Linked DNA regions of Homo sapiens: regions 1, 2, 3, 4, 6 and 7 are each linked to region 5. The links are contacts of gene promoters, found by promoter capture Hi-C in blood cells and fetal thymus (Javierre and others, 2016). All regions are on one chromosome and are shown on one strand. The core of a region is centred on a gene start or on the middle of the fragment in contact, and the rest is flanking DNA. Distances in the headings are between cores, read along the strand shown. Region 1 overlaps THSD7A (thrombospondin type 1 domain containing 7A). Region 2 overlaps THSD7A (thrombospondin type 1 domain containing 7A). Region 3 overlaps THSD7A (thrombospondin type 1 domain containing 7A). Region 4 overlaps THSD7A (thrombospondin type 1 domain containing 7A). Region 5 holds the start of TMEM106B (transmembrane protein 106B). Region 6 has its middle 380 kb from the start of ARL4A. Region 7 overlaps THSD7A (thrombospondin type 1 domain containing 7A).

Region 1 (3,904 bases), core at 408-2,907, 730 kb after region 5:
CACGATCCATTCTGGCCTATGCGGGTGAAGAAGGTGAGTCGCCAGCTTCAGACGCCATCTAGGTTCGTTTCAAAAGTTAGTGTGCATCTTTTTTGTGTAGCCTGGAAAAGATGATATTCTATGAAAGTCAACAACCAGAAATTCAGCCATCCAAGATTTAATATCTGTTGATGTGTTGAGCAATTTGATTCTGTCCCCCAAAATTAATCTTGAAAATGGATCTCTAACAAAGGAGAAAGACTTTTTAAAAGTGAACTCATTTTGCTTTTTCCCACCCTTCCAGTCATTAGAGTTCTTTGTAAACCAAAGTGTTAGGCCTTTAAGAAGGTCTGAAAATGGCTCCCAAAATTTCAGATGTTTCATTGTTTTTTTCTGAATTTCAGAAGTCAGTTTTATCTTTTGAAAATCATATTCTACCTTCTCATAAATAAGTATATATATCCAATCATAAAGTTTATTTAAAATCACAAGAATAGCTACTGTTCGACCAAAAATTGCAATTTTCAGTTTCTTTGAGTTTCTTGAACATAGGCTCCGAGGTCCAGAAATCTCATATGTAAATTTTGTTCATTTTTAAAATATGTTGCTCCTAAATCTCTTCACCCTATAGGGTGAATAAAGCATGTTTGTCACATATTCAGACCTCACTTGCAAGCTTTATTGCCAAGAAATACAAGGCTCTTGGTAATTGTCTCTCAAGATGATATCCAAATGCTAATTTGGCTTCTGTGTGACTGGGTAATATAATGTCATACTTAATCTTGTCTTTCTGAAAAATAACACAAGAGTGAGAAAAGCATAAAAGTAAATCAAGTTTGTTCATATTAAGGCATGTTCTTTCTCAAGAATATAAGTGTATGTTATTTAAACATTATCAAGCTAAATGACTCTTTGTTCACATTTAGCACTGATAAATAATTATTTCTATTTGTAATAAGCATAACATTTTATGTTTTCCCCAAATTATCGATTTGGGGGGAGTTTTGTGTTGCCTATACTTTTTCTATTTTTCTGTTCATGAAGTATTTTAGTGATAGAAACATAGTGTTCCTAGTCAAATTTGCTATCTGTGTGTGTAACAACTGTGCACACCTATAATTACCTTGGCCTTTGCACATGAGTGTTACATGCGTAAAACATTTTACACACAGAAAAGCCAACCTGTGTGAAATTTTAGAATTTTCTTTATAGTGTTCAAAAACTTTTTCCTACCACCTTAATATATATTTAACTCTTTGCTCCAAAAAAAAAGTGTATCTATTGAAAAATACAACCTTTTACAAAGAAAATTATATTTCTTGTGTTGTCAAACAATGACTCTAACCTCGTGAAGATTGTATGAAGGCTTTAAACTCTATCAGCTCAGATTTTGCCTTGGGCTTCATTAAAATTAGATCTGTGGTCACCCTGCTTCCTGTAAATTCATTATACTCTGCAGACACTTGCTGTGTGACTACTAATGAATGACTTTTCACCCCACCCCGAGTCACATGGCAAGGATTTTGCCATGCTTGCAGAACTCACCAGATCATTATTCCTGTAGACATGATGCTTCACACGGAAAGGTCATGAAATGTTTTAAAGGCAGAAATTTGTGATTGCTCTTTGATATGTATCATCCACTGAGTTTGAAAGGGTAGGGCTTCAATAATTTTTAATTAAGTTTAGTGGTTGCATTATAAGCAAGTCATGCTGGAAAGTTATAGATGTTTATATAGTAAATCATAAGGGCATTAATTCAAAACAATATAGTTCTGTTTTAATTGACGTGTAATAATTGTATATATAGGGTGCAGTGTGATGTATCAATATATGGATAAATTGTGTAATAATCAAATCAAGATAATTAGCATATCTATCACCTCAGACATTTATCATTTCTTTTAGCAAGGGCATAGAGAATCCTCTCTTCCAGCTATTTTGAAATATATAATACATTATTGTAAAACATGGAAGCCATAAAAGAAACTCTGTCAATGCTATTTGTCTCTGCTGCTATTTACCTCTGTTAATAACATTTATAAAAGCTGGTATAATTATGTGAAATTTATACTTCAAAGCCTATTTAGTACCTATTAGTGGACACTGAAACATGTTTTATGAGAAATTTGTACTTCAAAGCCTACTTAGTACCTATTATTTGTTGGACACTGAAACACATTTTCTCTTACTCAAAATAAATCTTTCCTAATTCTGAACTATTTTTAATGATTTAGGAACAGCATCTGCAGGAAGTTTTAAAATGTGTTTCTCTGCCACTTAGATAATCCTTTGTAATTCTACACAAAAGTCAGTCTTTCCATTATTCTTCAAGAATTAGTGCTTTGTGTCATAAATGTTCTTAAATTTCTGTGGATCAGACACTGATTGTGATAACTTTAAAGGAAAGTGCCACATTTGAGAAATGATATATGAAGTGTTTAAACAAGAAATTATATGATTTTCTAGGGAAATAACATACAGGACAAGTCCATGCGAAAAGTAGATCTGGATTTATGAAATAAATGCTCCAACCTATACTTTCACTTATCTTAATCAGAATGCCACCATTAAACAATACTGAAGGCTGGATAACTCCTTGTAATTAATAAGGATAGACTAGGTTGTGCTTCAGTAATGGACAGCCCAGACATTCAGGAGCTTAAAGAACAAAGCTTTATTTACTTCTTCCTCATGGAAATTTAGCTACAGTTTTGGGTAACTCTACAGGGCAATTTGTCCTTCATGAAATGTCACAATATTGCATCACCATATGAAGACCTGGTTCCACAATCTTCATGTGCCAGAGGAAGAAAATACTTGGAGAATCTATCTGTCGATTTTAAGCATCAGCAAGTAAATTCTCCCATCTAAGAGTGATTTATGTCATTTCTCACGTTTCATTGTTAATGTAAGTTGTATAACTATGCCTAACTTCAAGGCGAATGAGGGAAATATAATCCTATTGTGTGCTAAAATGAGAGGAGTATTGACTAGTACTCTTACCCCTGATTTACTCAGTGTTCTTATTGTGTATCAGTGTGTATATATGTATGTATGTATCTATCTATCGATGGCCCCAATCCAGTAGATAAAACAGGGCTCCTAACATTGTGAAAATGTTAGGATTAATTATTTTTGTTCCTCTTAAATGAATGACAGAATGATAGAATGGCACTTTCTCTTCCTCATACTGCACTTCTTTTCTTTCTTTTCCTTTTGCTTTTCCTTTTGCTTTTCCTTTTCCTTTCTTTCACTTCCTTTTATTGCTAGGCTCTTTTTCTCCTTTCCTGAACAATTCTATCCAAAAAGCCATTTGGTAAAGCCAAGCAGCTGGGCATCTGTGCCAGCAGATAGGAGGTCTGTTGGTGATCTAGAGTGGGTTGTCAGAGCCCAACTGGGTGAGGAGCAACCAAAGTGGGAAAAGAGGTGGCCTGGCATGCATTTTCAGAGCCAGTGAGCAGGGTGAAGGACAGGGGGCACATGGGTTGTATGAGAGGATAGAAGAGTGACTCTACACTGGATGTCAGAGCATAGCTGGGTCAAGAGAGAATTCCAGCATCAAGGTGGCCAGCCCAGTATGGGGTGTCACAGCCAGACACAGTTGAGGAGTGTTTCTGTCATGTGGGTGGCCTCATGTAGGATGTCAGATCATGAGCAGAGTAATGAAGATATCTTGTGGGTATAGCAATGGAGATAACAATGGGTAATGGAGTGTGAAGTGAGAGGGAATTGACAAAATAAGTACATGTATTTAACATAGTGAGAGTTGGTTTTTTTATTGCTGGAGAAGAGAGTTGCAAATATGTTAGGAAAGAAAACTAGTACACTCTGTGGTACAGCATTGGAATTGGATGTTATTAATTTATTTGAATTCATGGTGTTCAATTTGTAAAGATAAATATAGAATAAACATCAATGTAAG
Region 2 (3,517 bases), core at 410-2,909, 780 kb after region 5:
TCCTCTCACTTCAGATATCAGCTGCAAATTTGGGAGTCTCCAAGCCAACCTTACTTCTCACAAGCTGGCTGCAAATTTCTGACTTCCCAGTACTGCCCCAGGCTCAGTAATTCACTAGAACAGCTGACAGAACTTGGAAAAGCAATATATTTACCACTGCAGTTTTATAATAGCAAAAGGATACAAATCAGAACCAGCTCGAAAGGACAGGTAGCTGAGGTGAGGGGGCATCTGAAACATGAGGCATCCATAATCTCTTTAGTGGAGGCAGGAGGCATCTTTCTCTTAGCACACTGATGTGCATTTCCAAACAGAAAGCTCACCTGAGCTTTGGTATCCAGAGTTTTTATTCAGGTTTCATTATATAGGCATGACTGAAGAATCATTGGCCATGTGGTTAAATGCAATCTCTCTCGTCTTAAAGGTGGTCAGATAACATGTAGCTCAAAGCTCCAACTCTCTAATCAGATGATTGGTCTCTCCGGTGTGACCAGCCCCTTCCTGAGATATCCTTACAGCATAAAATCATAAGTAGTCTGAGGAGCCCACCATGAATAACATAGATAGTTCTATCACTAGTGAAATTTCAGGGCCGAGAGACCTACCTGGCCAAGGGCCAGGCAAATTCTTTATTATACAAGAGAAGCCTTTAGAGTTTGCTGTAAGAAACGCCCTTGGTAATGAACTTGTACATAGATATCACTCAATGAATCTGAAAAAGCGTGGTCATTGAGTAAATTCCCAGTATTAAAATAACAATAACAAAACCTCACAGCCATTCATACTGATATTGAAATTTTCTGTGAAAATTTATAAATACTTAGCAGATATGAATACATATGCTTTCAAATGTATATAAAATGAATAAATATAATTAAAATAATATTGTATTATACTTCTATAAATTTGCCTGGGTACTTTACTATGATAATTAATTGCCTAATATTGATTTATAACTTTTCATCCATCAAATATACAACGGGTAGAACATTGGAATATAGGAGTTTGGATATATATACATAGTAATTTGGTTGCCCCAGGTATCAGATCACCAGTTTTTAATATATAATTGCTCAAGAATATTGTCCGTTTGGAAAGTTTTTGCAAAATGATTTTTTTTTTCAACTTTTTCCAGCCTGTGAGGACCACAATAGATAAAAGTCTAGCTACATTTTCTCATTCCCAGTTGCAATCAAGTGAATATAATACACAATTAAGTAGAAGAGATTTTTTGAGGTTGCTTTTGAAATTAATCCAGATGTTTCAGAGAGAATGCCAGAGTTACTCATTCACACAGCTATAAATCAGAAGCAACCAGTATTTTCTATGTGCTTTCAAAATGAATTCTTTGATCCATCAACAGTATTCCTTTCAGCAGCACAATTTAGTAATTGTGAAAGTTGTTGAAATCTACTTTATCTCCACATTCATAATTCAAATGAATGAGTGATTGTGTGTATCTCAAAGGCAATATGTCCTCCAGTTGCCACTTTAAGCCTGCTAGTCTTTTGTATTTATTTCAACCTGAAAGCAGCAGTCAAAAATATAATCAGAAGTCTGGAGTTTAATTTTTCCAAGCGTCAAATTCTGTGTTGAACTGCTGAAAGTTTTAATATCCTAATTGTGAAGTCATTTATTTTATCCTAGCATCCTCAGAAACCATACATTGCTATAAGATGCCAGCAGTTTATTTAGCCTTAAAACATTCTAAATGTTTTTCTTTCTTTCCATCCCCCATGATTGTTTGGTGTTAATTGCCCTAAAAAATGATCTGAGCAGAGAAGGCAGGGGAATGCTTTTCTAGCAGTTCACTAGTAGCATTAAGGATTTTAATGGTGCTAGATAAACATGACAGGCAATTAGTGAATGTTGTCAGACATTGGAAAATAAAATTGATATGCTAGGCAATATACGCTTTTGCAGTTTTATCTTTATCTCAGTTTCTAATTTGCATCTATCTTTTAACAGTTTAATAGGCTGCATTTTATTTGAGAGATGTTTTCTGGAATATGCTATTGGAAAATCGGACATAAAAGTTTTGTATCTCCTTCCTTAATAACACAACGTGAATCAGTCTGAAGTCATACATGTTAAATCTTACTAAAACCATAATATTTCAATCAAAAACAATTTTCCATTTATCTGTTACTCTGTGGGGTAGTGACATGTAAGGCCACCAGGTGATTCTATTTTCAGTTATAATTACTGAGCTAAAAAAGCCTAGAGGTTTACTTTTGAGAGACATTTTGCAGTTTATCAAGGTGGGAAAATGCAATTCTTATAAAAATATTTCCTTTGAAATAACTTATTACCTTTGAAATACTAGTGCTCTTTTGCCAAAGCCATTGATAATATTTGGAAATGATTTGGATGGTTCTTAATTCATTGTAGTCTTACAAATATTATTAAATGATTTGGTCATAATGCCATTGATTTGGAAATGACTTTAGATACTTTTAAAGTTTGATTGTATTTATTAAACTATAACTTATTTAAAGAAAATAAGTGATTACTGGCCCTAAAATAAGAAGAGTTATTTTTTGGGCATCTCATACTATTTTAGGTCAATTAATTTACTGCCTCAGCTGTAGGAAAAAAGGCATTTGAAGTATATTTCAACTCAGAATCATGAAGGGGCTTATTTCTCCACCCCAAAGCATAATTAAAGTCAAAATGTAAGATTTAAGTAGATCACTGCAATCTATTTTAAAATTTCAGTAACACTACTGTGAAATATTCCTTTAGTTCTTTGTTGGACTTTCCTCTGGATCATTATCGATACTCCAAAAGTCATCTTGAATATATGAGAAGTACATTAGAAACTTAGCAGTGGCATCTTCTTTCTGTCTTCTATGTCTCACAACAAACAAAATCCCAACTCTGCCACATCTGCCCTCCAGAAGATTATCTGGGACTAATGCCCACTTTCAGAACTTTTCATTGTATCCTAATCTTCATGCCAAATTTGTGATCCCATTTTTTAAAATTTATTTTATACTTCATTTACAATGGATAATATAATATACATACCATCCAATTTATCCATTTGTCTCCTAGGAGTACACCAAACAGAAATACATACATATGTCCATCAAAAGACACATTCTAGAATATTCATAGCAGCACTGTTAATAATGGCCCCATATTGAAAACTACCTAAATGCCCACCACCAATAGAATGAATAAACAAGTCATAGTATATTCACACAATAGAATGCTACACATCAACCAGAATAAACAATATTCAGCAATATGCACCAACGTAGATAAAACGCATATCACAATGTAGAGTGAAAAGGCTAGCACAAATGGATATAAACTATATGATTCGATTTACATGAAATTTTTAAAAAGTAAAACTATTCTACACAGTGAGTAGTCAGGATAGTTGTTGCTCTTGTAAGAAGGGGCAGTGGCTGCAAGGGAATACGGAGGAGAGTTCTGGACTATTGATTTCAGGGGTGTGTTCAGTGAAATTTACGTCTATGGAAAATGCACTTTTGCATATGAAGACTAC
Region 3 (3,463 bases), core at 593-3,092, 710 kb after region 5:
CATCTTATTAGTGGTTGTGGTCAAGTCATTTGCTTGACTCCTGAGAGTCAGAGAGATGCATGTCAACTCAGTGCAGTCAGCAGGTCATGCCCAGTGTAGTCAGCCCAAGATGGAAGGTTTGTGCTGAGGGCCCAAGCCAGGAGTTCCCTGTCTGGTGACAAGCCATGAAGGGTGTGTGGATCCCACAGGAGTTGGACTGACCGCCTCTCCTTGGGTCAACTGCAGCTTGTTGGAGGTGTGGATAAGGCCCTTAGGGTCTTTGCTCCTTCATTAGTCTGAGGATGGCAAGGGCTGTTCCACTACAGAGGCAGTGGCAGAGAGGCTTTCATTTGCCCCTGGAGGCTCTGTCAAAGGAGTTGCTGAGTTGGTACTGGCTTGATAACTCCAGTGCAAGGTGGCTGAAGATCCAGGCTTGGAGGACCTGCCCAGTGAGGAGATATGAGAACGGGAACCCATGTAACAGTCTGGCCACTTTTCCATAGGGCTGCTGCTGTATGCTTGGGGCCTGCTTCAGTCCCTAGTCACCTCGGATTTTCTGGAACCTGGAGGTATCACCAGTGAAGACTGTGAAACAGCAAAGATGGCATCCTCTCTCTCCCTCTAGGAGCTTTGTCCCAGGGAAGTAGGGACATTTTTGCCACCCAAAGGCATCTGCATGAAGTGGCTGGAGACCCTAGTTGGGAGGTCCTGTCCAGTGAGGAGGAATAGGATGAGGACCTGCTTTAAAAAGCAGTCTGGGCATGTTTTGATAAAGCAGCTGTGCTGTGCTGGGGGTCCAGTCCACTTCAGCCCCCGGTCACTTCAGATAGCCAAAGGCTGGAACAGCTAAGTCACCAACAGCAAAGATGGTGGCCCACCCTTCCCTCTGGGAGTGCAGTCCCAGGGGGAATTCAGATCTCTGTCAACTGGAGAGCTCAAGCAGGAGAGGCTGGAGGTCCCAGTTGGGAGGTTCCACCCAGTGAGGAGGAAGAGGATTGAGCTCCTGTTTAAAGCAGCAGTCTGGCCACATTTTGGTAGCACAGCTATACTGTGCTGGTGGATCCCTTTCACATCTCCAAAGCCTAAAGGCTAGAATGGCCAAGGCACCCAAACAGCAAAGATGGCAGCCCGCCCCTCTCTCTGAGAGCTCCTTCTTAGGGATTCCAAGCCAGTGGGTCTTATCATATGAGGTGCCATGAAAGTGGGGTCTGTGGGCTGTTATGGATCAGCCCCATGGCTTCAGCCTCTTATCTAGGGGTATGTACAGGAGTCTAAGCTCCCACTTTGATGGAGCTGCAGCTACTTTTGCCAGAAGGCCCAAGTATCTAAGGCTCCAGGGTCTTCACACATGCCTGAGCGGCTGCTCTGCCAAGACTCCACATAGCTATATTGGACTGAAGACTGAAGGTGGAGTGGGTTCTCAAAGAGATCTCCTAACCCAAGGGTTGCAAAGATCTGTGGGGGAAGCATGGTTTCCCGGGATCGCTTATTCACTCATCACTTCCCTGGGCAGGGGATGGTCCCCTGGCTCCATGTTGCTCCCAGGTGAGCCATTGTCTTGTCTTGTTTTTCTTCCCTCTCTGTGAGTCAGGTTGTTTCCTTGATTAATCCCAATGCAAGTACCTGGAAGTTTCAGTGCAAGGTGTTATATTTACTTGCCCTTCTGTTCCTCTCCCTGAGAGCCACAGCTCTTAGCATACTAGCTGCTTCTAGTCGGCTATCTTGGCTACTAGTCAACAGTTATTCTTAAGATAAACATTTTCCAAGTGGAAAGTTCTATTATGTATTAAAGATTATTGAGAGTACATTATACTCCAAAAAATGTATTTACCAAAAAAATGACCAGTGTTTTCCATATCTTTGAAACAACATTGGATTGGTAATTGGCTTTGTTTGAACTACTTTCTCAGGAGTTACCTTATTCCTAATGTCCCCTAAAGAAATGCAATGAGGTACATTTTTATCAATACCATTAGTTTTATATTTGACAGATGCACCAAAATATCTGGCCTATCTCAACAAACATATGTCTATTATCTTATTGATTGATATGTTTTGGCTGTGTCCTCAACCAAATCTCATTTTAAATTGTAGTTCCCATAATCCCCACACATTGTGAAAGGGACCTGCTGAGAGGTAATTGAATCATGGGGGCAGTTTCCCTCATCCTATTCTCATTATAGTGAGTAAGTTCTCATATGATCTGATGGTTTTATAAGGTCTTCCCCCTTTACTCAGCTCTCATTCTTCTGCTTCCTGCCACCATGTGAAGAAGGATGTGTTTGCTTCCCCTTCCACCATGATTGTAAGTTTCCTTAGGCCTCCCCAGCCATTCTGAACTGTAAGTGAATTAAACCTCTTTCCTTTATAAATTACCCCATCTCGGGTATCTCCTTATAGTAATGTGACAATGGACTAATACATTGATTTACGTTGGATAGCTTAATTTCTGGACTCATGACATCTATATTGTCTGCTCTAATAAAGTCTCACAACTTTTTAGCCTCAGTGTCTTTATTTACCTAGATTCAATGATTGTTGACTTTGGTTCTACCCTTGGTTGGCTAAATGTTTTCATTTGTTTATTTTGTTTCAAGAACATTTCATTGTATGTTTTGCATGTTTGAGTGAAATTTGCCACTTTTATATTTCATCTGTATAGTTTCCTTACTTGTAGAAGTGAGATAATATCTCCTGCTTCTAAAAATTAGTGTAAGCAGCTTACGTAGCCACAGGCTCCTGGCCCTTGGAAGAAGTGTAATTTATTTGTGTTCCTTAGTGCATTAGATAGTTGAGCACAATGCTGTGGAGGAATATCTATCATCTCTGTAACGATAATTTGGCCTCATACATGAAAAAAATTACGGATGTCTCAGCCCTAAACCCCAGGTCATATGGTCACTGAATCTCCAACTCCATCATCAACTTGTGTAACCTTGGGCAAGTGTTTTCCATACTATGGGCCTCATTTCCTAATCCTTAAACTGGATCACCTCTCGCATATTTTCTTGCCACATACAATAGTGTATTATTGAAAAATCACAAGAGAAGACAAATAAATTAAGCTAGTCTCTCACACTAAGAGGGGACAGCATAGTATAAAGTTGGGGACATTAATCAACTTCCATGGTTTTATTTCTCTGTAATATGGGTATAATAATCATGTCTACTTCATAGAGTTGTTGGAAAATTATATCCGCTAAATCCTGTAAAACACTTAATGCCTGGCACATAACATTGCACAATAAAAGTCAGCAATTATTAGTTCCATGTTATAATTTTATGTTCATGACTTTCAGATTAGAATTCAGGAACATTATAGTCACATATAAGCATAGCATTTCTGCATACTTCTGATTCTGTAGAATATATCACTTTAAAAATTCATGATACCAGAAGACTAGCTGACAAGATTCTCCCATTTGGGTCTCTATTAGTATTCTTTCCATTGACTTCCCAGTAACTTAACTTGTCTAAAAATCTT
Region 4 (3,737 bases), core at 391-2,890, 800 kb after region 5:
ACTCAGTGATTGCACAAGAGTAGGTTACAGTCTTTTTACACATCCAAAGAGGGTATAGTTCACTGTGTGTGAAGAAACCTTTAGGATGAACTTGAATGTAAGGAGGCAGCGTTAGCCTAAATTTAATTTGACATGTTTTACCTTTAACTCACATTGTTTCTTCACTCAGGCCTTCATTAAACAGATACCAACTAAGCTTTTACTGTCTATCAGTAACGGTGTTAGGTAGGGAGAATATACAGCTATCTAAAACATAAGTCCTCTCCTAGTGCACTGCAGAAACGAACAAGACCTTTATATAATACACATTATGTCAAAACAGATAGTGTTATTCCAGTGTGACCAAAGTGCAACGGAAGCAGGGGAGGAGGAAGCAATTATTTTAGGCCTTAAAAAGTCCATGGAGGCTTGTTCCTGGTTTCTTACTGTTCTTAGAAACCAACTGTTTTCAGAAGACTGTACCAGTAGATGAATGGCAAGCCAGTCTTTTTAGATGTTGTCAACTGAAGAATGACAAGGTTCATAAATTTAGAAAGGAGAGCTTTACATCTCATAAAGGGTTGCAGCCTGCAGGGTGGCCATCCTGACAGGCTGGGAATCATAGCTGCCAGCCAGAAGCCAGAAATAGACACTTCTAGGGAATGGAAAGGGAACAGTAACTAATTTGTGTTGAGCAGGGTGGCCAAATATACATATTTAATAAGCTATATGAGGAGTCATGAATATTTATAAAAAACAAAGAGTATGCATGTGCAATTGAGCTTTATGCCCCCTCGTGTCCCACGTACCAAAAATGGTGGCATTAGCATGATCCAAGGGTGGGATTTTCAGTGCTCTAATGTCAAAAGGTGAAACAGAGGTCACAGAAACCCTTACTGTACATCCTCCATGGACTACCCAGAACCACTCCTTGGTCAGTGGTTTCTTATTAGGAAGAAATGCTGGTTGGTTGTTTTGTTGCAACCATAAAAGGGAGAGGCAGTGTCAGGCTGTAACCACCCATGGGGTTCTTCCTGCCTGCTGCACAAATAAAGACCAGGGTATTGCAGTAAAGAAAGAGTTTAATAGACATAAGGCCAGCCATGCCACATGGAAGATGGAGTTAGTACTCAAATCAATATTGTCTAAGGCTCCTAGGTAGGGGTTTTTCAAAGGCAGTTTGGGGGAAGGGGTGGGACTGCCAGGGAATGGGTGCTTGCTGCTGATTGGTTGGGGCAGAGATGAAATCACAGGGGTCAAAGCTGTCCTCCTGCAGGCTGAATTCTTCTGAGGGGCGCACAGGAACTGGGTTGGCAGGTCCAGGTAGAGCCCTGGGTGTTAGACATGCAAAAAAATGGAAAAGATATCTCAAAGGCCAATCTACTATAGTGGTGTCATCTGCAGGAGTAGCTAGCAATCATTTATGTCTACACCTTAGCAGAATTCAGGTTCCTCTCCTCTCCCAGCCTGATGGCCTTTCATTAGCTTTACAAAGGCACTTGGGTTTGGGGAAAAGCCTGTTATTTAAACTATAAAGTAAATGTTTCTTGAAGTTAGCTCACCCCGAAAACCCAGGAATAACTAAGAGAAAAGCGAGATGAAGGTGGGTTAGATCAGATCTCTTTTACTGCCATAATTTTCTTACTGTTATAATTTTTGCAAAGGCAGTTTCAAGACAATTGGTTGATCAGGTGCAGAGTGAGTTTTTCCAAAGGGCTTGTTTCTGTATAACCCTTACGGAAGAACGCCTAAAGGCCGAGAACTCAGTTTTCAAGGTTTCTCTGTGGTCCCTATGGCCAAGAGGGGGTCCATTTGGTCAGTTGCAGGTCTTAGAACTTTATTTTTTTTTCTCAATTCTAAATTAAGAATTAAAATTAGGATTTAGAATTAGAATTGTTTATATGCATGTATATGTGTGCATCAGGAAAAGGAAAGTCACTAACACCTAGTCATTTAAAGTTATTCTTAAAATGTCTTTTAAGGCCCAAAAGACTATACGTAATCCACAAACATATAATTATATATATAATAATACACATATAACTTTATATATATAATAGCATAATAATTAATATGACCACCATATGTGTGGCTGTGTATAGGTGTGAGGTGATGTGTGTATTAACATTTGACACATGGCATCTTATAGCTAGATGGTACATCAAAATCTCATTCAACACCTTCATTTTATACATTGAACAACTGAGGCATAATGAGGTTGACTGACTTTTCTGAGTTAGCCAGTGGCCCAAATGTTCTAACTCCTGCTCCAGTGCTGTCTCTAATATACCAGTTGTGTAGCTGAGTATTCACCTTTCTGAGAATTTGTACTGTTCTTTTTAAGCCTTGCAATCAAAGCAGTTTCCGGCAAAGGTCAGCTGATCCCATCAGACAACCAGCTGATGAAGGAAGATCTTGCCCTAATGCTGTTGAGAAAGAACCCTGTAACCTGAACAAAAACTGCTACCACTATGATTATAATGTAACAGGTACATGGATCATCATCTGATCACGGAGTTAAGTCCAAATCCTGTGTCTGTCAGCTCTGAAGCATTCCTGTCAGTATAGTTCATCTCTACCTGTGTGCCTTTTGGATATGCTGCTTACTTTCCCAGAAATAATTACATATTAAATGACAGAAATACTTATCTGGGTTTTTTTTTTAGTAAACACTAAGATAGAGGAAATAAAAATGTCAACAGACATTAGCCCTTAAAGTAGGTTGTGAATATACTAAGTGTTCCTACATAAGACAACCTCTCACTTCGGGAAGGTGAATCTAAAATATTTTTGGCACAGGTATCAGATTTATTCAAAAATGTCTTTCTTTTTCAGAAGATGCTTAATTGCTAAAACATACTGGGGCAACAATTCATGAGGTGTGGGCAGTTTATAAACATGATTAGTCAGCAATCTTAAACTTGCCAAAGATTATAAATCAATGCTATAAAAGGTGCAGGTAAAAATTGATGAGTATTTTCAGAAAAACAGATTTATTATAAGTTGCATTTTTCCCCTAAAACTCATTTAATACCATCAAGGTGCATACTCTAGGAAAGAAAATCTTTTATTGGTTTATATGAATTGGGGCAACACGAAAGCTTACTTTGGAATTTTTCCCAAGTAATTTTCACTCTGCAACAAACTCAAGAAACTGTACAATGACACATAACAGTCATATTGGCTTTGTTTCTTTTGGTTTTTCTCTTCAGTTTCCTTTGATGATACAAAAAAAAAAAATCACAGTTATCTGGGATGTGCTATGTTACCCAGGGAAAGAGGTGTCTTTTATGTCTTCTTACGAAAGACATAAGAGAATGAATAAATATGGCCAAAGTGATTTTTATCACTTTAATAAACGTATGCATTTTCTTGCATTCTAAATATGGATAAGAAATAAAATGTATGTTTTATCTGAATATAACTACACAGTTAAAGTACCGTCTGTCACAATTATGATTATTTGGCTAAAAGTAATGCTAAGATTTTAAATTATATTTTTATTGGGAAAGAAAGTTTTTAAGTGACATTGATCTGTAAGCCAAAGCCATTTTCACAGTGTCACCAAACGGCTAGCTATCAAGATTTTCAAGTAGACATCTGCCTTTAAGAATAATCCCTGTAGCTATGTGCAACCCCAGCAATTCCATTTGACTCCTGATACGTTCAAAGCTGGGACCCATATGCTCTGCATGGGGGATGATTGATTATGGGGCTTAGGAAGCAGTTGTGAATTAAATATGGGATTCAGGTCATCA
Region 5 (3,583 bases), core at 763-3,262:
CAGTTTTTTTTTCATTCAACAGTTGACAGTTAAAATTATGAAGCCAATGTTCCAAAATATTAAATATAAGTTACCAATACAAAGCAGCAAAATTTAGAACACTAACTTCAAAAATTTTAGGATAAGAGTATCAAAATAACAATACAAATGTAAAAATCTAAGTAGAAATAAATAATTAGTACTAGTGCCTACACAAAAATAACTTCTGCAGGTAGATAATGAAGTAACTTTATACTTAAGGTCATACCCTTTTAAAGCTGAAAAGAACTTAACAGTCATATAATACACCCTGCTGGTATTTTCCTGCTTATATCCTGAGAAAAAATAAAGTGAAAAAGTAAAACTGAAAAATAACATAATTATACTCCTTCTAAATTTGATATGTCTTTTAGCGGTTCCTAAAAATAGATTACATACATTCAGACAGATAGTATTTCTTTCAAAAATTCTCACTTATTTGATTAAACAAAACAGACATTCCAAGTAAGTCAGTTCATCCTAGAGTATGAAGAAAATTTTACTTTCTAGAACTGGCATGCCTGATAGGAGCCTGCTTGGTGGGTACAATGTGTGTTGCTCCAGTGCTGGATGCACTAAGGGCTCTGACTTCACCAGGATGTTGTGTATCAATGTAGCAAATGGCACTTGTACTCCATGAATATACACAAAATAAATACAAAGATAAAAAAATAAATAAAATTCGCATGCCATCCACTTGTTGCTGTCACTCAAATAAACAGAATTTAAAAAACTATACAAATGGTATGCAAACAAATGTAAAATGAGATTTTCACTCTTTCAAAAAAAAAAAACTATGTATTTATAAAAATCACTGCCCACATCAAAAATACAAATGATTTATGACTTCTAAAAAATCATTGTCTTAATCAACACCTGTCAGCCACAGGTAGGATAGGGAAGACTTAACATCACTGTCCCCACACACTGTAACCTTGGGGTCTATGCGGAACACTAGATGAATTGGGATCATTGGGCCTTATCAGCAAGGCCTTAAGGGCACTCTTTCTGGGATCTCAGTCAACACAGCCAGGCTGTAAGCTGCATCTTAACTGGAGCGCGTTGAGAAAAAAGACACAGAAAGGCAGACTCAAGTGGCTCTCCGTTTGAGCCTGTTTTCTGTCCTAATCTAATAGCTGCCATGATCGATTCTGCTTTAGGGTAGGTGTTTGGACAAGTGCCAGACTCTGTGAGAAACTGGGAATCCCTTGCCTTCTCTACTAGATTTTCCTTAGAGAACTGACAAGTGTAACCACTTTTATTCTTGGGAGACTCAATGGTTTAAAAAAGGGGTGCTAGACCCTCTTCTGCAACCTCTGTGGGCTCAGTGTTATTTATTATAGCGGTTCCTTAGTTTACTGAAAGTCAACATGGATATCAGACTCAGTTTGGAGAGAAAAAATATATCACAGCACTCCAATTTAAATGGCTCCTGATCTTCTGTGTAGACACTGGTTTTAGTTCTAAAAGGGCTTGAGAACTAAGGAAACAAGCGCCTTTGAAAAGCTCCATAAACAACACCTAGCACAAAGCCTACTCTGTAAAGCTGCAAAATAAGATCCCGGCACCACGGCAAGAACATTCATCAACAGCAAAAGGAAGAGGGCCACCTGGCGCTCAAGGTGTGAGGGCCTAGAGGCAACCCAGAGGTAGGGCTTGGGCCGAAGCCGAGTGTTCCCTGGCTGGGCCTCATTAGAGGCGACACAGCAACTCGATCACCAGCCCTGACCGCCGCCGTACCTGCGGCTGGCCCAGCACCCCAGCGGCCTCCCCTCCTTGTCAGGCCCGGCTCAAGCCGCGGCGCAGCCGCTCAGCCTCGCTCCGGAAGGGGACCTGGGGACTGCACGTCCGGGGTCGCTCACCGGCACGCGGGGCGCTGCGCAGTCCCGGGCTGCTTCGGCGCGGACAGGGCCGAGGACAGGGTCGTGGAGTCCACAGTCCCGGGAGCCGGGGGGTGGAGCGACCGGCCTGGAGCGCGCGGCCGCCGTAGAGCTGGGACGGGGGAGGGGTAGGATAACGACGGCATCAGCAGAGGCCAAGCGCTGCTGTAACCTGCGTCCGCGCCTGCGCAGAGCGCTCCCGGAGGGACACCCCTGGCGTGCGCGTGACGCATGCGTCCTTCTTCCTCCTGTTTGAGCCCAGAGGCGTCGATCGTGTGAGATTGTGCGCTCTTCAGGTTTCATTACCTTCGCGTCCCCCAGACTTCAAAGTGTCCACTGTAGCCACGAATTACCTAGGAACAGTCGCTCCTCCTATTTCCCATATCAGACCATTTCCTTTTGCAAAGGGTATAAATGTGCACCATCTGCCTCAGCTTTCAGCTGAGCAGCCTCCTCGCTCACGCAATGCGAGTTGTCGCTGACAGTCTGGTCCTTAGGAATGGAATAAACTGGTCCGTACACACGCCGCTGACAGCAGCAAAGCTACCTCTATTTTAATTTAGAAACTGGCCAACTAGAAGGAGACAGCAAGCGGCAAGGCCGTAGTTTTTGTTTTTGCTCGGTTTCGTTTCGCTTTGCCCACGCTGCCCCTCCCCACCCCTTAACTCTGGTGCTAGTTACAGGTGTGTGAAATCCCGTCTCGGATCCCAGTACTTAAGCTCTTCGCTGTGGGTTGGGGCTGCCCTCCCCCAACGTCTAGGTCATTTCACTTAGAAGATAAGAACAACGACAAGGAGTCGTTTTGAGGGATCAATGAGATGCCGGTAATAATATTAAGGGCACTCTAGTCTCATTCCTGCGGAGAGTTTAACGTTTAATGAATGGTAGGCATTCTTACAGTCACAGGAGCAAGGAAGTGAGAGTCATATATTTCTCTCTTCTAACAGGATCAGTGTGATCCTGTTAGAATCAGGGAATTCTAACAGGAATTGGGAAATGAAGCTATGTAAAAGTAGGAAATACAAGTCAGAACGATATACAATTTAAGAGGATTACTGTAGATCCATATGTGAGATAATGAGCTTTCTCATACAATGTTGTCGGAGATTTAAAACTCCTAAGTTTTCTGGCAGACAGTCAGTATGTATCAAGACTATTAAAATGTTCACATCGTTTGGTCCAGCAATTCCACCCTTTCAGAAGTATCCTAAACCTAATGAGAACTCTAAAAAGATTTGGGTATGAGGTGTATCCATTTAAATAAACTGAATGTCCAACAAGGGACATTGATAAAATCATTATTTTTCAACCGCTTTTATTTAGCCCATATTTTCCAAAGGGAAGGGTCAGGGTGTCTTCCATTAACACTGTTTGAAATTTCAAAATTAATAGGTTGGTTAAAACAAATCAGAATCATGGGGGAAAATTTTTCTCAAAATTATTGACAGTCCACCTGTGGAGATATGATGTTCCCCTTGGAATTACTGAGTTTTTAAAATTATGGAATAGCCATCTATTGAGTTTTTATAAAGCCAGTAAAAACCATCTTATAAGGCTGTTATACGCGGAGTGATATAAAATTAAAATCAGGATGCAAAGTATAGGATATGAGGTATTGTAATAGGATGTAAACTATATTCACATATAGATAACATATAGATATAAATATATTACATATCTGCCTT
Region 6 (3,655 bases), core at 587-3,086, 850 kb before region 5:
TGCTCCCTTAAAAATGGGAAATGGGAAAAAACTTTCACTGCTCTAATAAATATTTCATTTTCTCTTCACATTCTATGGTTTTCTAGTTTTAAATAAGTTACTAAACATAATGTCAAGACATCTGCCAAAGTGCCTCATTTTTTCCTCAGAAATATATTATTTACTGAAACATCTGTTTATGTAAATAACATAAACTCAGTAAATATCTGATTGTTTTAATAAATAATATAAACAAAACGATACTTATTATTCCAAAATGCATTAATTGGCTGTCCCAAAAAATTAGATTACTAATCATACTCTATAGTGTTTAAGGAATCCCCAGCACTGCCTCAGCATTTCCTCAGCACAGATATTACCAAACATTAAAGAATTAGGATGTTAACCATGTAGAAACTTGTGTAGTTTGTGGTTCAAAGCTGTTTCTTACAAATTTAAAGAGCTAATTTCACCAATATTGTCATCAAAATATCAAAAGCTTTCATGGAATTTTTCAAAATAAACTAATTGTTGCTCACTTTTTTTTTTCTTAAGCTATATGACAAAAATAATTTCAGGATAATTTTCCAGATTCAAAAAAAACAATGGTTAGGATTTTTTTTTTTTTTTTTTTTTTTTTTCTGAGACAGAGTCTCGCTCCGTCGCCCAGGCTGGAGTGCAGTGGCGCGATCTCAGCTCACTGTAAACTCTGCCTCCCGGGTTCACACCATTCTCCTGCCTCAGCCTCCTGAGTAATTGGGACTACAGGCACCCGCCACCACGCCCGGCTAATTTTTTGTTTGTGTTTTCAGTAGAGACGGGGTTTCACCGTGTTAGCCAGGACGGTCTTGATCTCCTGACCACGTGATCTGCCTGCCTCGGCCTCCCCAAGTGCTGGGATTACAGGCGTGAGCCACCGCACCCAGCCAGGATTGTTTTTTAAAAAGGCTTGGGAAATACTGAATTATAGAAATGCCTACCTGGGAATATTTTAACTCCTTAGATTAGATTCTCAAACATTTTATAAGCTGGTTTCTGCCTACTCTTCCAGAATTATCTACTTACACTGTTTCCTCTTTTAATATTCCAAAATGTACTGATAATTCACTAACTGCACTTTACAGTCATACATCCAAAGCACTTTCAGTTGCCTTCTCTACCTAAAAGGAATGTCCTTTCCAAGATGGGTTGCCTACTAATTTCTATGGCTGTCAATGTGAAGTAAAAATGTCTATTTGGTATCTCTGCTACCGACCACAGGCAGACAAATGTATGAGTCTATGCTATCATGTATTTATGTTTATGCCAGTTTTTAACTTATTCCATCATGTCAATTGCATCATTATGTTTGATTGTTGGCCTACTAGTGTATTCATTAGAGAACAAGTCACCTATGAGTACAGATGATAGTTTTTCCTCTTGGTAGACATTTATTTAGGTAATTAATAAATATGTATTGAATAGATGAATAATTAATAATTAATGATAACATATGTTTAGCACCTAAAGCACAGTTTATACTCAAATAGTTGATAATCAAATATAGTTATGTATCAACTATTAGTTGATACTCAAATGCTCATTGTGTTTTCAATATGCAGCAAATGATTCATTATTCATTCAACTAATACTCATTAAATTGTTATCATATACTAAGTGGTGCTCTAGACAATGAAAATGAAGAATAAAATGATAATGAAGGATTAGCCTTTTTCTATTGTGAAGCTTACGTTCCAGTAGGAGAGACAGACAATAAATAAGTAAACCAATAAATTAACACAAACACAATAAATAATATGAAGTCAATAAAACCAAAAATAAGTAATAGTTCTAGGGTAAGTAACTTTATTTGGATGTGCTGAGAAATTCTCACAGGAGATTAACACCCGAGCTGAACCTGGATGGAAAAAAGAGCCAAGCGTTTGAAGACATGATGGGTGATCTAACAGATTTGAAAGTTAAAGGGTCTTTGGAGGAAGAATAAGCTTGCTACAACTGAAAAGCAGAAAAGGAAAGTGAAGGAAGGAAAAGTATGGTAAGATAGATATGAGGTGCAAGAGATAGAGGCAAAAGACAAATAATGTAAGGCCTTTTAGAATATGCTGGAGTTTGTGTACTTTCCTTTTCTCACTAAGTGGAGGTGGAAGCCATTGGAGGATTTTTATTCAGGGAGTGACATGGTTTTAATCACATTTTAAATTATTACTCTGGCTGCAGAGCATAGATTATGGGGAAAAAAAGGAGTGATTCGTTAAAAAAATCCATTGAAGAAAGTAAGGTGGATAATGATAGTTGTTTGGGCTAAGGGGCAGCAGTGAAGGGTGAAAGAAAGACAATTATTTTGGAGACACAGCTGATAGTACTTGTTGATTGATTTCATATGAGAGATGAGAATAATTTTTTAATTTTTTTGCCTGTTTAAGTGTTCTTTTTTTTCTTTGCTTCTTTTGAGCTTGAGCATCTGGGAGGAATAGAGAAGCAAGTAAGAACAGGTTTGGTCATAGTATCAAGAATACAGTTTTGATCATATTTAATGTGAGCCAGCCTACTGGAATTCAAGTGACTATGTCAAGTAGGAGTTTGTCACTGAGGAAAGATTTAGAACTAGAGATATACATCTGTAAGTCTTTAAATATAGGTGATGTTTAGAGAATTGGAAAAGACTTTTTTCAAGAAAGAATATAGGTCGAGAAGAGCAGAAGATTTCAGACTAAGCCTAGGGTCCTAGAATTCCAGGGTCAGCAGAGAAGGAGAATCTAGCAGGGGAGACTGAGCTAAACTACTTAGTAGATAGGAGGAAAACCAAGGTAGTGCAGAGTTCTGAAAAGGAGAAAAAAATTCAACAAGAATAAAATGGTCAATTAATCTGTTACAGAAAGAACAAATAAGATGAAGAATGATGAAACATGGTAATTTTTGTTTTGTTTCGTTTTGTTTTTTTGAGACGGAGTCTTGCCCTATCGCCCAGGCTGGAGTGCAATGAAACGATCTCGGGTCACTGCAACCTCCGCCTTCCAGATTCAAGCGATTCTCCTGCCTCAGCCTCCTGAGTAGCTGGGATTACAGGCAGTGCCACCACACCCAGCTAATTTTTCGTATTTTAGTAGAGATGGGGTTTCACCACGTTGGCCAGGATGGTTTCGAACTCCTGACCTCGTGATCCACCCTCCTCGGCCTCCCAAAGTGCTGGGATTACAGGTGTGAGCGACCGCGCCCAGCCAAAACATGATAATTTTATCTGGCAAAATTGAGATCATTGATAACCCTGGCAAGAGTAGTTTCAACAAAGTGTACAGGGGCGGTGGGGGGGTTGCCCAAATGAACTAAGTTGAGAAGAGGCTGGAATCATCATCACGTTACTGCAGAAACAAGCTTTTTCCAAGAGAAACAGCTGCACATCAGAACTTTGTAAAGAAAGAAGTTTAAAGCAACTCTATCGTGTAATTTACAATTGTTTTCCCATCCTCCACAATGAGAGTTGACTGTATGAAGCCTCTGAGGTGGTTTAGCCCACCTTACAGTAAAGTGCAGTGATAAGAGGACAGATCAATTGCATTCTCTCTTTCAGCACTGACTTTGAAGTGGAAGGATATAAGCAGTGGGAGCTGAAGTTATTCAGATACACAGAGCAAGGCCTTCGGACGAGAGCTTTGATGAGTCCTGAAGCAACTGAAGT
Region 7 (3,532 bases), core at 840-3,339, 750 kb after region 5:
GCTGATAAAGATCAGTATTAAGTGGAGTGTAGTTTAATCCTGAGACCAGTGCACTTGCTAACGTGTTTTTCAAATTTTTGTAAATTTTGACAGAGGGCATTTTAAAAAATAGAAATACCTTATGCACATAAATTATTTGTACCTCTAATTTTAAAAAATCAATACTTTTGATCAAATAATATATTTGGTTGCTCAAATTCTGTTTGCTCCTTTTTTTTCTCACTGCATTTATTGTGTTGAGAAATAGAAGGAATATTGCAGAGGCTTCTTCCTCATGTCCTAAATCACTAGAGCACTAGAATTACCACCAAAGATCTGAATACTACCTTTACATTTTGCTTCTTGGATGAGACATTTCCCTTTCAATTTCCTATTACTGTACTGCTTCAACCTGCAATCCATCCCATATCCAGTTTAATGAATCAGTTTTGCCTGCCTTTTAAATCCTTTTCATCAAGTAATTTCTCGGTGAAATTTATTTTGAATGTCTTAAGATATCTGAAAAAATGCTATAACTGTGTGAGAGATTACATATCTTCTGAATCTGTGTACCCCATCATCACATGATTATTTGCTAGATGTACGATCTGTTTTTTCCATTCCTATCCTGGATAGGCATTTTTAAGCACAAACGTCACAGGCAGGTGCCCTTATTTTTCGCGTACTTGTTATTTCCAATGAAAACAAAGTGATAGCTTATTTTTATTAATCCTTAATGCACAGCATTGGTACCTGTGCGCTTACCACTATAAAGGAATAAGTGGAAAGAAATAGAAGGTGCTAACTAATAATCCAGTTGAGAAGATGTGAAATAAATGTGTTTGTGCGTTCAGCAAATATTTATTAAGCACTTACTATATGTGACTCTTGTCTTAGGTATAAAACACACAGATGAATAGAAACACTACAAATATATCAACCGCATATAATAAAATGAGCATAAATACAAGCAGGGGATGATGAAAGGTATAAAATTCCCAGTTTGCCAGCTCAAGTTATTAATGATGAAACTTTCATTTTTTGTTTTTAATGTGTGCTGTATAGCTTCCTTTTTTTCTGCTCTCTGATCTGAGGACTGTATAACCTGGCAAAGCTCTACAGCGCTGTAACTTTGAGTACACAAGCAATTTCTTAACTGCAATATGAGAAGAAACAGACCTGCCAATGGGTAAAAACATAGATGTCATTGACACTTCCTGTGTAACCCCATTAAACGTCTTCTCTGGGTGTCATATCTTTGAAGAGTTCCACTTGAATCAGGTCACAATCTCTATCCTGTAGGCTGTACCAGGTTAAGGAATTTGAACTTTTCATAAGAATAAATGGATTGCCACTCTGGAATCCATTAAGGACGTGAAGAGAGTCATCATAGTCTTATATATCTAGTACTAATTTGTGGAGTTTGTGATGAGAAGGCATTAGGAGAATGTTTCAGAAATGTATTCTAAGTGACATTTTTTCTTTCAAATCAACAAACAAAATAGAATTGAAACATTAATGTTTGGTAGCTGCTTCCTCAAGTAGAACAGCCCTGGCTATGCACCAGGTGCCATCTAGGTAGTTAATAAGTAGGAGCTTTAGTCTATGAGGTGCCACTAATGCTGAACTCATTGTCTCCACCAGCCCCCAAATCCCCTGGTCTTAATCCTGTGTCTGTCCTCTATCTGCAGATTGGAGAGTAATTGCCTCTAAGAATTTTGACCAACTGGGAAACAAAAACCCATTTGAGCCCTTTACGTCTTACCTCCCCATTAAAAAACAAAACAGAAACCTCCCTGCTTCCCCCAATGTTAAACAAATGTGAGTCTAATTAGTTTGTATACTTTAAAAAAAAAAGATTATGGACAGTTCATACACATAAAACAAAAGAAAAAAATAGAAATTGTAAAAGAAGGGCAAATCCAGGTAGTGAATAGGAAGGGGGTAGAAGGAAGAGGGAGAGAAAAATTATGCTAGAAAATCAAAGCTGTGGCAAGCTCCTTCAACTGAGAAGAAAATTAGCTCTGAGATTCTGGTGACCAAAGCAAAAAATAGAAGTACAATGGATTCTTTACAGATTGTCAAGGGAGACAGAATTTTCCCTAGCTCTGAATTATTAAAGGAATTTATCACCTGGGCCTTAAAATACAGGTCATTTTGACAATATAATAGATGGAGACTGCATTAGCAATTTATTAAAAGTCCTGTTGACATTTCTTAGATCTTCCCTAGATAAATTATATTTAACATGTAAAAGTTGCAGCTGGCATTCAAACTACTGCTACAATTAAAAGTCCATGACAATATTTTCAAATACTTTAATTCTCTGCTGCCCAATACTTCTAGCCCCCAATTCCCTACTCCATTACCTGTAGTATCCCGCTTATTCATTAAAATAGTTATGCCATCATTAATAGTACAGACGACACCCCACAACGGGAATAATAATTCTAAAAAGTTACATGTAAGCCCAGAATCTTACATTGGGATAGGTCATACAAGGTCGTGTATTACAGTAGATTTCAAACCAGGCCCTTCATCCCAAATACCTGGCAAGATTTTTAAATATCCTATTCCCAAACCCAGCTTCCAGATTCTGATTTAGTAGTCCTGGGTATAGGCCCAGAAATTTGTTGTTGTTGTTGTTAAAGAGATTCTCCTATGAAGTCAGCCATTTACTGATCCATTCTCCCATCCAATACAGAAATCCTCTCTAAACATGGCAGTGAGTCAGTTGCCCAGACCGTGTTGAAGAATATCTTTGACTGAATGAGAAAGGATATTCCATTATGGCAATGTTCTAATCATCAAATCATACTTTCTCCACCACCACAGTATCTTTTAAAAAGGTTTCATTTGATTTCTGATTAAACATTAATTGTTAGGAGCTGCTAATCCTTTAAAATATTTCTGTTCCTGTAGTCTATGTATGAAATATTTGAAGATCTTGCAAAATAATGAAAATGCATCAGGAGGATTCTATTAACATAATTCTTTAGAGAATTATTTTGTAAGTAAAACCCTGTGCCATGCAGCTATTCATCGTTAAAGTGTACGTAATCTTAATTGAAATATATTTTATTAAAGTTGGCAAGTTTTATACGCTACATGATCTGTATACTAAAAGATTTTTGAATCCTTACATCAGTCATACTGTCAAGTTGATGTCTTTATTGAAAGTGTATCTTAATTTTTTCCATTTTTAACATACTTTAGAGTTACTTATTTATAGTAATTATTGCTATTTTGACTGCTTCTCTAAAAAGTCTGTGTCTGCCTCTAAGAAACCACTTTCATTTTACTACTTAGATCCCTAATGTTTAGAATGTGACCTGAATTGAAGGTCTTAGACTGTCTAACATGAATAATAAATGACCGGAATAATTTACAAGTTATGCATTTCAAATTAAATGAATAACAAAGAAATAAAATTTCACATTATAGCACTGAATATATTCTCCTAAAGAAGATTCATTACATGTGTATGAGTCCCATGTGATAAACAGGGCTAGGCAAAATAGCATGACAATGAATTTAAGGTAGAGGAAAATAA

Evidence for each region. The method cuts DNA at HindIII sites, captures the fragments that hold promoters and counts their contacts. A CHiCAGO score of 5 or more calls a contact.
Region 1: a fragment that was not itself captured here is called in contact with the fragment with the promoter of TMEM106B in region 5 in 3 of 17 cell types (M2 macrophages, M1 macrophages and monocytes); the score reaches 6.8 in M2 macrophages.
Region 2: a fragment that was not itself captured here is called in contact with the fragment with the promoter of TMEM106B in region 5 in 3 of 17 cell types (M1 macrophages, M0 macrophages and M2 macrophages); the score reaches 12.0 in M1 macrophages.
Region 3: a contact is called between a fragment that was not itself captured here and the fragment with the promoter of TMEM106B in region 5, in 1 of 17 cell types (monocytes). The highest score is 5.4, in monocytes.
Region 4: a contact is called between a fragment that was not itself captured here and the fragment with the promoter of TMEM106B in region 5, in 1 of 17 cell types (M0 macrophages). The highest score is 5.5, in M0 macrophages.
Region 6: a contact is called between a fragment that was not itself captured here and the fragment with the promoter of TMEM106B in region 5, in 1 of 17 cell types (total B cells). The highest score is 5.6, in total B cells.
Region 7: a contact is called between a fragment that was not itself captured here and the fragment with the promoter of TMEM106B in region 5, in 1 of 17 cell types (monocytes). The highest score is 5.1, in monocytes.

The regions. Positions count from the first base shown.
Region 1 is chr7:11,477,917-11,481,820 of GRCh38, reverse strand. THSD7A (thrombospondin type 1 domain containing 7A) reads left to right here. Exons shown (of 28, transcript NM_015204.3): 7 at 1-33. Among named protein-coding and RNA genes, the nearest start is that of THSD7A, 350 kb to the left of the region's middle. The HindIII fragment of the contact is 1,999 bases long and covers 658-2,656 here.
Region 2 is chr7:11,432,369-11,435,885 of GRCh38, reverse strand. All of the region lies in intron 13 of THSD7A (thrombospondin type 1 domain containing 7A), which reads left to right. Among named protein-coding and RNA genes, the nearest start is that of THSD7A, 400 kb to the left of the region's middle. The HindIII fragment of the contact is 4,062 bases long and covers 1-3,517 here.
Region 3 is chr7:11,495,905-11,499,367 of GRCh38, reverse strand. All of the region lies in intron 6 of THSD7A (thrombospondin type 1 domain containing 7A), which reads left to right. Among named protein-coding and RNA genes, the nearest start is that of THSD7A, 330 kb to the left of the region's middle. RefSeq lists enhancers at 288-788, 789-1,289. The HindIII fragment of the contact is 5,403 bases long and covers 1-3,463 here.
Region 4 is chr7:11,411,387-11,415,123 of GRCh38, reverse strand. THSD7A (thrombospondin type 1 domain containing 7A) reads left to right here. Exons shown (of 28, transcript NM_015204.3): 18 at 2,324-2,468. Among named protein-coding and RNA genes, the nearest start is that of THSD7A, 420 kb to the left of the region's middle. The HindIII fragment of the contact is 2,884 bases long and covers 199-3,082 here.
Region 5 is chr7:12,209,723-12,213,305 of GRCh38, reverse strand. It overlaps TMEM106B (transmembrane protein 106B), which reads right to left and starts at 2,012. Exons shown (of 8, transcript NM_001134232.2): 1 at 1,881-2,012. RefSeq lists enhancers at 1,295-1,811, 2,204-2,253, 1,812-2,330, 2,464-2,613 and a silencer at 1,714-2,023. The HindIII fragment of the contact is 6,470 bases long and covers 1-3,583 here.
Region 6 is chr7:13,063,054-13,066,708 of GRCh38, reverse strand. No RefSeq gene overlaps it. Among named protein-coding and RNA genes, the nearest start is that of ARL4A, 380 kb to the right of the region's middle. RefSeq lists a silencer at 3,638-3,655. The HindIII fragment of the contact is 260 bases long and covers 1,707-1,966 here.
Region 7 is chr7:11,462,467-11,465,998 of GRCh38, reverse strand. All of the region lies in intron 9 of THSD7A (thrombospondin type 1 domain containing 7A), which reads left to right. Among named protein-coding and RNA genes, the nearest start is that of THSD7A, 370 kb to the left of the region's middle. The HindIII fragment of the contact is 6,994 bases long and covers 1-3,532 here.